3 separate regions of the Homo sapiens genome follow, and regions 1 and 2 are each linked to region 3. The links are contacts of gene promoters, found by promoter capture Hi-C in human tissues and cell types (Jung and others, 2019). All regions are on one chromosome and are shown on one strand. Each heading gives the region's core, a stretch centred on a gene start or on the middle of the fragment in contact. The rest is flanking DNA. Distances are from core to core; before and after follow the strand shown. Region 1 overlaps LOC105372225 (a long non-coding RNA gene). Region 2 overlaps ATP9B (ATPase phospholipid transporting 9B (putative)). Region 3 holds the start of CTDP1 (CTD phosphatase subunit 1).

The links. The method cuts DNA at HindIII sites, captures the fragments that hold promoters and counts their contacts. A contact is called where the count stands out against the background at its distance.
Region 1: a contact is called between a fragment that was not itself captured here and the fragment with the promoter of CTDP1 in region 3, in 2 of the 25 tissues and cell types used here (dorsolateral prefrontal cortex and lymphoblastoid cells).
Region 2: a fragment that was not itself captured here is called in contact with the fragment with the promoter of CTDP1 in region 3 in 2 of the 25 tissues and cell types used here (dorsolateral prefrontal cortex and spleen).

What each region holds. Positions count from the first base shown.
Region 1 is chr18:79,029,266-79,032,518 of GRCh38, forward strand. All of the region lies in intron 1 of LOC105372225 (a long non-coding RNA gene), which reads right to left. Among named protein-coding and RNA genes, the nearest start is that of ATP9B, 39 kb to the right of the region's middle. The HindIII fragment of the contact is 7,608 bases long and covers 1-3,253 here.
Region 2 is chr18:79,108,873-79,112,534 of GRCh38, forward strand. It overlaps ATP9B (ATPase phospholipid transporting 9B (putative)), which reads left to right. Exons shown (of 30, transcript NM_198531.5): 3 at 1,483-1,633. Among named protein-coding and RNA genes, the nearest start is that of ATP9B, 41 kb to the left of the region's middle. The HindIII fragment of the contact is 7,074 bases long and covers 1-3,662 here.
Region 3 is chr18:79,677,356-79,681,072 of GRCh38, forward strand. It overlaps CTDP1 (CTD phosphatase subunit 1), which reads left to right and starts at 2,448. Exons shown (of 13, transcript NM_004715.5): 1 at 2,448-2,906. The coding sequence starts at 2,593. It overlaps CTDP1-DT (CTDP1 divergent transcript), which reads right to left and starts at 2,390. Exons shown (of 5, transcript NR_136643.1): 1 at 2,039-2,390. RefSeq lists enhancers at 1,573-2,080, 2,081-2,589. The HindIII fragment of the contact is 29,025 bases long and covers 1-3,717 here.

The DNA of each region.
Region 1 (3,253 bases), core at 344-2,843, 650 kb before region 3:
ACAGTGGCTCATGCTTGTAATCCCAGCACTTTGGGAGGCCAAGGTGAGCAGATCACAAGGTCAGGAGTTCAAGACCAGGCTGGCCAAGATGGTGAAACCCCATCTCTACTAAATACAAAAATTAGCTGGGTGTGGTGGTGGGCACCTGTAATCCCAGCTACTTGGGAGGCTGAAGCATAGAATTGCTTGAACCCAGGAGGTGGAGGTTGCAGTGAGCTGAGATCATGCCACTGCACTCCAGCCTGGGCAACAGAGCAGGACTCCGTCTCAAAAATATAAAAAATAAAAATAAGAAAATAAAGGAATGTACTACTGGGAGATAAGATTGCTATACTCCAACTGAACTGGTAAAATGAGAACACCAATAGACTGTGATCACTAGACATATATAATGTAATACCTAGAGCTGTCACCAAACAAGCTATACAAAGAGATACACTCAAAACATTACAGATAAATCCAAATGGAATTCTACAAAATCCCCATGCCTAAGCACCCACCAATCTGCTCTTTGTTTCTTTGGATTTGCCTATTCTGGAAATATTATACAAATAAATCCATACAATACAAGGCCTTTCACGACTGGCTTCTTTTACTCAGCATAAGTTTTGTCTGCATTGTAGCAGGTACCAGTGCCTCATTCCTTTTCATGGTGAGTAACATTCCACTATGTGGATATACCACATTTTGTAACCCATTCATCAGGATGAACATTTGGGTTGTTTTCACCTTTTGATTATTATTACTAATGCTTCTATACATATTCATGTACAAGTTTTCGTGTGGACATATTTCTTTTCTCATGGGTATATCCCAAGGGGTGGAATAGGTATGTTAAATGATGTCTACATTTCACCCTTTAAGGAACTGCCAGACTGCTTTCCAAAGCAAAGGCACCATTTTGCATTCCCACCAGCAGTATATGTGAGTTCCAATTTCTCTCCATCTTTGCCAACACTTGTTATTGTCTGTCTTTCTCACTGTAGTCATCCTGATGAGTGTAAACTGTTGCCTCATTATGACTTTGATTGGCATTTTCCTAATGGCCAATGTTGAGCATCCTCTCATGTGCATGTTGACCATTTCCACATCTTCTTTGGACAAATGTCTATTCAAGTCTTTTGCCCGTTTGTTATTTGGGTCATTTATCTTCTTATTAGTGAGTTGTAGGGTTCTTTATATTTTCTAGATGCAAATCCCTTGTTAGACATATGGTTTTCAAATATTTCTTTTTCCATTCTGTGGGTTGTGTTTTTGCTTTCTCAATAGCGACCTTTAAAACACGAAAGTTGTAAATTTTGCCATAATTCAATTTTTCCATAGAAATCGTAGAGCTTGAATTTCTTTCATGTTCATTCCTTCCAATCCTATAATTCAACCACATAAATTAGTAAAGGCCCACAGGATAACAGACCTGAGAGAAACAAAACTGGGACTTGGAATTCAGAAAAGTGAGCTGTGATGTGAAAATAATGCCTGGCAGGGCTGGTTGGAATGATCTCTGGGCGACTGACACTTGTCTCTGGGGGCTGAGGCAGTGGCGTTGACGAGTGTGTAGAGGGAGGCAGGAGAGCCGCAGCTGAGTCCGCAGGTGCTCTCTGCTGACAGTGCTGTCCTGGAATGTGCACGGTGAGCACGTGCAGGCATGTAGGCTGTGGTCTGCCACTTGCTGGGTCTGACGGATCTTCAGCAAATGCTTCTCACTCAAGCAATGGTGCCCCCTCACTTCACGCCTCAGCCTACATAAAATTATGAAATGAGATGGGTGAGAATGTGATGATCTCTTCAACTTTTAAATCCCATGGCTGTGTCTGGGACCTTCTGAAGGAAACACAAGTCATCTTCTGTTTAGTTGTCCCAACAGCCACATCCTCATATTCCTAGGTGGCTGAGAGCCAGTGTGAAAAGAATGTGTGCCTAGTTGCCCACATTTCGCATTCCTGAACAATTATTTGTTGACATCATAGGAAGAGCCCAATTTTCATACTTTAATCAACATAATCAAGATTGACAAAAGCAGGTTTCACGATTACTTTTTTTTTTTTTTTGAAATGGAGTCTCACTCTGTTGCCCAGGCTGGAGTGCAGTGGCACGATCTTGGCTCACTGCAACCTCCGCCTCCTGGATTCAAGCGATTCTCCTGCCTTCCGCCTCCTGAGTAGCTGGGATAACAGGCATGCACCACCAGACCCAGCTAATTTTTGTATTTTTAGTAGAGATGGGGTTTCACTATGTTGGTCAGGCTGGTCTCTAACTCCTGACCTCGTGATCCGCCTGCCTCGGCCTCCCAAAGTGCTGGGATTACACAAGTGAGCCACTGTGCCCGGCCAGTACATCTCTTTAACATCCACCATTTATAATGTAATGAGTCTTTATTAACCAGGCACACGTAACCAAGTATTTGGTTAGTGCACAAATAATTTTTGCCAACATAATAAAATATGATGCACGGATGGAGGACAAATCCTGCGATTCCCACATGGTCTGAAATTTCCACTTTGGCCACAGGGCTGACAAAGGTCAACATTTCTGTTTCAAGGCAAAGACTGTTGTCTCATGCCCCAGCTCCAGCCCTGGGCCAGAGGGTTGGGTAGACAACTGTATTAGTCCGTGCTCTCACTGCTATGAAGAACCACCTGAAACTGGGTAATTTATGAAGAAAAGAGGTTTAACTGGCTCATGGTTCCTCAGACTGTACAGGAATCATGGCTGGGGAGGCCTCAGGAAACTTACAGTCATGGCGGAAGGCAAAGAAGAAGCCGGCATGTCTTCACATGGCCGGAGAAGGAGGAAGAGAGTGAAGCGGGAGGTGCCACACACTTTTCAACAACCAGATCTCACGAGAACTCACTCACCATCACAGGAACAGCAAGGGGGAAAGCCACCTCCATGATCCCATCACCTCCTCCCAGGCCCCTCCTCCAACATTGGGGATGACAATTCAACATGAGATTTGGGCGGGGACACACATCCAAACCATATCAACAATGCTGAGCCCCGCCTCCTACCTGGTGAGACCCCGACCCCTGGCAGAGGACCATGCCTTCCTCCCTGCATGTTCTCAGAAAAGAACCCATCATCGTCTTCATTTTAGGGGTTTTTTACAAATTATATGTGTTTCGCCACAAGGGTTTCTGAACTTCACATTTTTATTTTTTACTAGGAAATTAAAAAGAAAAATTTCCCCTTGAAGAACTCCCACTTTTAAAAGTTTTTTCCTTTCAAATTTTGATACTATTCATGTTCATTGTAG
Region 2 (3,662 bases), core at 1,033-3,532, 570 kb before region 3:
GAAGTTTACTTCATATATTCAAATTCATAAATTCAAATACTGAAACCTGCAAGTTTTCAGTATTTGTAAAGTGATTTCTAAAGCAGGAGAGCATTACGATTATATAGTAAGGGTGTGGCACTCCAGCATGGGAGACAGCAATTCTGAGATGGAGCTCTGATGTGTCAGCCTCATTTTGTAATCAGCCTTATGCTGTCATTTTCATGCAAAACTTTTTGTTAACTTTTAAGCTTCCTTTGTCACAAACATGAAGAATATTTGACTTATACGGCAGGCTTTCTATTCTAGCCTTGAATACAATTAGAAGGTGAGATTTAACAACTTCCTTTAGTAAGCCATTCTGAGTCTTTCTCTACATTTTGAAAATTTAAATTAAACCAAAATTTTAATACTGAAGTTTAAATTCATGATTATTTTGTGCTTAAAAGAGATGAATTTGATACCTTTTCATCATTTTCTGAGGTATTTTTAGAAACTCTATACTGTCTACCCCAAAATAATGGTTTGGATGACCAAGAAGGGGAAGAGTTGTGCTCCTGAAACCCAGACACTATTGGAACAGGGTAAATGTAAAATTAAAATATTTACTGCATAGATGAAGAGAGCTATGTGGAAATACAGTCAAGCTTTTATTATCATTAGAATATCACAGGAAACATTTGTATCCTCTTTAAATATTGGATTGAGCTGTCTTTTTTTTTTTTTTTTTTTAAGATGGAGACTCACTCTTTCGCCCAGGCTGAAGTGCAGTGGCATTGTCTTGGCTCACTGCAATCTCTGCCTCCCGGGTTCAAGCTATTCTCCTGCCTCAGCCTCCTGAGTAGCTGGGATTACAGGTGCCTGCCACCATGGCTGGCTAATTTTTGTATTTTTAGTAGAGACGGGGTTTTACCACATTGGCCAGGCTGGTCTTGAACTCCTAACCTCAGGTGATCCGCCTGCCTCGGCCTCCCAAAGTGCTGGGATTACCGATGTGAGCCACCACGCCTGGCCTGAGCTGTAAGTCTTAATATTGCATTAGTTAATACTACTGGAAAAGTCATTTTTTAAGAGTGGAAAAAGTGATTATTACTTCAGAGAATGAGCCACATCCTGGATTAATTGAAATCCAAGGACCTTTATCATTGAAAAGTGTATTGGGAATTACCAGTAGGTAACCTATAGCTATAGCTATACCTTTTCTCGACATATAGAGCATTGACTGCTTCAGAATATTAATGGTTTTATTTTGCCAATAAGAGTGTCTAAACAGAAAGATAATTCCCCTGGGGTACATTTATATAAGACTTTGTATTTTATGTCAAATTTAAATTTGTGTAACCAACCTATTATAAGAAAAACCCCACAAATTAGCATTAGGTGTGCTATTAGTGTGTGGTGAATACAGAAACAATCAATATTGACTCTAAATATGTACAATTAGTTTGAACTTTTTTAAAAAGCAAAAAAAAATACACAATACGTATCTTTTGTTTCATACAGTTGCTGTGGTTGGCTGATAAATATTTGTCGAAGAAAGAAAGAGCTGAAAGCTCGCACAGTATGGCTTGGATGTCCTGAAAAGTGTGAAGAAAAACATCCCAGGAATTCTATAAAAAATCAAAAATACAATGTGTTTACCTTTATACCTGGGGTAAGACTATTGCATTCTTGGAGATGGGTTGTGTGTCAGAGATTGCTGGCTTCCTTTGCTATAGGATGGAGCCTGTTGAGACTCTGACTTAGGTATTGAGTTGTGTCACATCCAAATCAGTGTCCTTTTGCTTTTGAACCATCTGTGTTCCCAATAATCGCTAAATAATTCATATGTATTTTTAATGGCTACATCATAGAGTTCAGCTCAAGAAAATGTACAATTTGATTATTGCCTTCAGTTCTTGATAAACATCATATTTATATTATTTTAGAAATATAGACATAATGAAGTAAAAGTAAATAAAATTAACAGAAAACAAGTTATACGTTTTGTTTGTCTGGGAACTAGTTTGGAGAAAACAGTAAATGTAATGTTTAAACCCTGCCAAGAGATTTCGCAAAGAAAATGAAACAATTTTTTATACTGAAATGATACAGTAACAAAGTATCTGTAATATGCATATTTATATATAGATGTCTTTGCTACTTCACATTATAAATCTCAGACCTTCTTATATTGTTATATCGTTAGTTATCTTTAATTGGGTATTATTGCTAAATTTAAATACTGTAGTTTAAATATTTTATTACTTTTGTTGCTAGTGATATTACTGGCTTAAATTATAAAACAGTTCATATACAATTAGAATAGTTGAATAATTTTTGTGTTTTGTATGTCATTCCTTATTTTAATAGATTTATTTATCTTTCTAAAGGAAAAGGAAGCTGGTATTGATTATATTTCTATATCAAAGTTTTTGGCATGTTTTATGTCTTTTATTTGCAAGAAAAGCTCTTGATTACATGGAATGTGGGTTGCTTTATCTTGTATATTTAATTTAAATAATCATGCTGACATTGTATTTGGCATTGATTTTACTCCCACCCCCACCTCATCCCCATCCACCTAGTGATTGGCAAATACTTGATATCTAATGCACTTCTTTATTAAAACCCACAAAACTAATGGCTTCATAATTAAAAGACAGACCTTTTGTCAGGATAATAAAATGTAAACTGTCTTACAGGCAGATAAATATTCGCATCTTTATTGAATGAAGCCACTGTTTTCTGCTTAGGTTTAAATTATTAAATACTCACAGATCTCAGAGATTGGCTAAGCAGTGTACGTTTTCCTAAAGGTCAGCAGGTTCAGTCAGTAGACTGTAGAGTATTGATTGCAGTCGTTTAAAGCCAGCAGTGCAGCTTAACTTTGATCAGTGTAAGTCCACACAGCCTGCCCAGATTGGCCGCATGCTGAAAATACCTGTGGATGTGACTGTATGATGATTACCATGTGTATGAGTTTTTTATCTTAGATCGTCTCTGAAATTAGTCTTTTCATCTAAAATGTAGTATTTTAGAAACATTTGGTAATTACCCAGTAGGAGTTCTATGTCATTTTTACCACGAATGGCAATTTCTAAGTTGCTAATAGATATAATTTATGCTGAGATTTTAAAGAAATCACTAAGGAAAAAGCACTTTATTTCCTGCTGAGATTAATTTATGAAATAATTCAAAACATTCTTAGACAGCAGGTTGAACGTGATTATGAACATAAATATATTGTCAGTGTAACTGATTTTGAGTCCCACACATTGCCGTATGATGATGCAGATAACCTCATTTTCTGAAAACAAGTTGCAGACTCTCTAGTTGAGCAATAAGCACTTAACCCATTGCCCTGCTTGGTGAAATTTTCATACCTTCTAAGTGGCATGGAAATGGCATCCAAAGAGATTGTGATTTGTAAGTTGCAGGTTTGCAAGTTTGATTTAATTGTAGTGTGCTGTTTGAATTATTCTCATCTGTAAACGTAAGTTTTGTTCCATTTTGATTTTCAATGTAAATCTAATAATTAGAGGCGTTTGTAAATTGAGATCTATTAATATGTTAGATCTTGGGTTTTCTTCTCTAAAGATAACTATTTAAAGTGAAAACCAAAACCAAAACCTTTCAGTATTGACATTCCTAAAATTTTATTGAATGATGAAATTTCTTTTATATTTGAAAATATTATTAAG
Region 3 (3,717 bases), core at 1,198-3,697:
TCAGAGAGACTCCAGTGCCACTGTGTGGCCAAAGACTTACGGACAGAAAAGGGAGTGAGGCACAGAAGGCAGAGGTGAGGCCTGCAAACAGCAGGGTGGCTACAGCTCGTGTCTGGCTTATTGAAACAGAGTTTGAAGTGCTGCTGCCTGTGACTGATTCAAGAGTAGGTTACAGTGTCCACACATCCAATTAGATGACTGTTCACTACGTATGGAGAAACCTATAGGCTAAACTTACAGTATGTAAGGAGGCGGCTTCAGGCTACAGCTGAGTAGTGTGTCCTTACAGTTGGAACCAGGAGTTCATGGGAATTCTTCATCATCCAGTGGTCTGTAAATGTTGCCCATGCTGAGTAGTCTGTCCTTACAGTGTGAACCAGGGGTTCATGGGAATTCTTCACCATCCAGTAGTCTGTAAATGTTGCCCATGCTGAGTAGTGTGTCCTTACAGTGTGAACCAGGGGTTCATGGGAATTCTTCACCATCCAGTGGTCTGTAAATGTTGCCCATGCTTTAGTTTTGTTACCTGGTTGCTCTGTTTTTATGGGATTGTGAGAAACTGAAAAACTGTGACTGCTGGAGCCATTTTCCCACAATCCCCATTTTTTAAAAATCCCATAAAGGCTCTCTCGTGAGCACCGCACGTTTTCCCTTGTAGTCACGAGGGTAGGGGCTGGAGAAAGCAGCAGAGATAGTCAAAAACCCACAGCTACAAAAAATGCACTCCTAAGAGCAAGTAATGGCGAGGGCTAAAAGGCACTGTGCCCCTTCTGGGCCATTCTAATTACCACATTTAAATGGTTTTGAGAAAAGAGAATTTTTATCTGAGGAACGCGAGTTCTTTTAATTATCAGGCCGAGAGAGACATTCAAATGAGGCGACAATCGCGCCCTACTACCCCTTGACCTGTGTTCACCTCTTTAAACTGCTACTGGTGGCAACAGCGCCACAAACAGCTATAAATTAACCTAATGACGCCACAATGGACACTATACCCACACTCAATAGCTGAACAACATATAGTCAGTCACTAATCAATGTTATTTCTGTAAACCAGTGAGAATTCCTCACAAACAAGTTCCTATTAGTCCACTCCCTGGCCCCCTTTTTTGCCTTTAAAATCCACTGTTAACTGCTAATCGGAGTACACATTCAGGGCGCCTTGAATTTGTGCTCAAGTGTGGCCCAAATAAACTCTCTACTTAGAGAAACTGTGTCTCCGCTCGTTTTCAGGCCGACAGTTTCCAAAATGTTAGTATTCAGCCTAACATGAGAAAAGTCACCATATAAAAGTGAGGGGGGAAAAGCAAATACAGGATAATCTCAATTGTATATAAAATTTATATACGTAAGGACAAAGATACATAGTAAAAAAAAAATTCTGGCAGGTATTAAGGCTGAAAAAATTAAAACAGTCCAGAGCGGTCTGGCTCAGGCCAGCCTGGGCCTGCCGAGTAGCTGGGACCTCAGCCACCGCGCCTGGCTAAGTATTAATGAATCTGTTTTAGAGATAGGGTCTTGCTACGTTGCGCAGGCTGGTCTCCAACTCCCAGGCTCAGGTGATCCGCCCGCCACAGCCTCCCGAAGTGCTGAGCCTCCCAAAGTGCTGAGACTACAGGCCTGGCCGCCCGCCCGCCAGCTTAATTCACGTAAATTCCAGACAAACGTAGAAAGTGGCTCCTTTAGTAAGCCACTTGCGGCTGCTGCTCATCAGGGTTCGCCTGGGGCCACTGAGACCACGCGCCGGTGCCCGCCCTCCCGCTGCGGTCCGATTTTCTGAACCAACCAGGCGCTTCCGGGCGCCTTGCCCCAGACGGGCCCACCGCCTGCGCGGGCCGAGGGCGGCGCACCTGCCCCTGCGCTTCCGCATCGAAGGTGAGGTCGGAGGAAGAGAAGACCGCAACCCCCAAGCTCCCGCGGCGTGGGGTCCGGGGGGGGACACGAGGCGGGGCCACCAGGACGCCGACAGCCTCACGTCTCTGGGCCCGCGGCGCGCAAGGCATGCCGGGACCCGTAGTCCCGCGACGTTGCGACTCACAGTGCGCGATGGGAGTGGAGGAGAGCGGCTCGCGGTGCATGCCGGAACTCGTAGTCTCGGGATGCTGGGTCTCAGCGCGTGATGGGGTAATGGCACGCAGGCCTGCGTTGAACGCTGGGACTCGTAGTCCCGCCATGCTCTGTCCGCGGTGCACGCCGGGATACGTAGTTCCGAGCGCGCCAAGACCGTCACTGGGACTGGGCGACAGCGGCCCGCGTTGCATGCCGCTGCTCCACGGTGCCGGCGCTCCGAGGAAAAGTAGGTAGGGCTCAGGAACGCAGTTCTTCACGGCCGGCACGCAGGGTTGGTCCCAGGACGGAGCCGGCTCCGGCCCCGCGCGGCGCTCGTATTTACACGCGCACGTACGCACGTACGCGGCGCCCTTGCGTGACGTCACGCGCCCTCCAGGAAGTCGGCGCGGGCTAGGCGACGGGTGGAAGCCGGTACCGAGAGGAACTACAGCGTCGCCGCCTGGGTTGTGTCGCCGCGGTAGGCGCTGCGCTCTGAGCGCAGCGCAGGCCCCGTACCGACCGCCCGCCCGCCCTCTGTCCGCGATGGAGGTGCCGGCCGCGGGTCGCGTTCCTGCCGAGGGCGCCCCGACGGCGGCTGTGGCCGAGGTGCGCTGCCCGGGGCCCGCGCCGCTGCGCCTGCTGGAGTGGAGGGTGGCGGCGGGCGCGGCCGTGCGCATCGGCTCGGTGCTGGCCGTGTTCGAGGCCGCCGCCTCCGCGCAGTCCTCCGGGGCCTCTCAGTCCCGTGTAGCCTCCGGGGGCTGCGTGCGCCCCGCGCGGCCGGAACGCAGGCTGAGGTCGGAGCGCGCGGGCGTGGTGCGGGAGCTGTGCGCGCAGCCGGGCCAGGTGGTCGCCCCAGGGTGAGTGTGCTGAGCCGGGCGGGGCCGAGGGCGGGCGGCTCCGGGGAGGGATCCTGGAGGACCCCCGGGCTGCTGCGTCCGCGGTGGGCAGGGGCGCCCCTGGTGAGGGAGCGATAAAGCGGGACGCAGGCACTGCGCTTCTCCCCTAAAACTGGATAGTCACCACCTGTGGTTTTACCAACGGGGAGCATTTTGAGATAAAAGGAAAGGGTCCTGCGTAGCGACACGAAGTTACTGTTTGGAAAAGCTATGTTTGTTTCTTTCTTTCTGCAGTGATAGTCCCCGCCCCTTCCTTTAGCTCCACCTTTGTGACTTAGGAAAACTCATGGGTGGCTGTGAGCACAAGAGTCATCAGGCAGGCTCCAGACCTGTTATTGAAATATAAACTGTTGGGTGTGTGCACATCTTTAAATTTTTGTAAACTTTGTGAAACGCAGTTGTAAAACCTGGTGCAGTTCTGTTTCGTGGCTAAGGAACGGGCGGAACCCAGGCCTGCAGCGAAGGCAGTAGCCCCGTGGTTGACCACAGTGGGCATTGTCGCAGGCTGCTTCAGGGTGACGTGGGCGTTGTGACAGACTCCACAGCTCTCAGTAGCTGTGCTCTGACCCCAGAAGGGGATATGTTTCCGTAGCACCGAAGTGTCCAGCCATGTTTGAATCTACCCTTGTGTTCTGGGATGGGCGGGCAAGTGGACACGCGTGTGCGCCTGGCTCTGGTAGTTTTGATTGTGAGAACAGAAACTCCAGGGAGAGGTGGACACTCCAGCCCGCAGTGGGCCGGGCGTGAGCTCCCTCTGGGAAAGGTGCCGCTC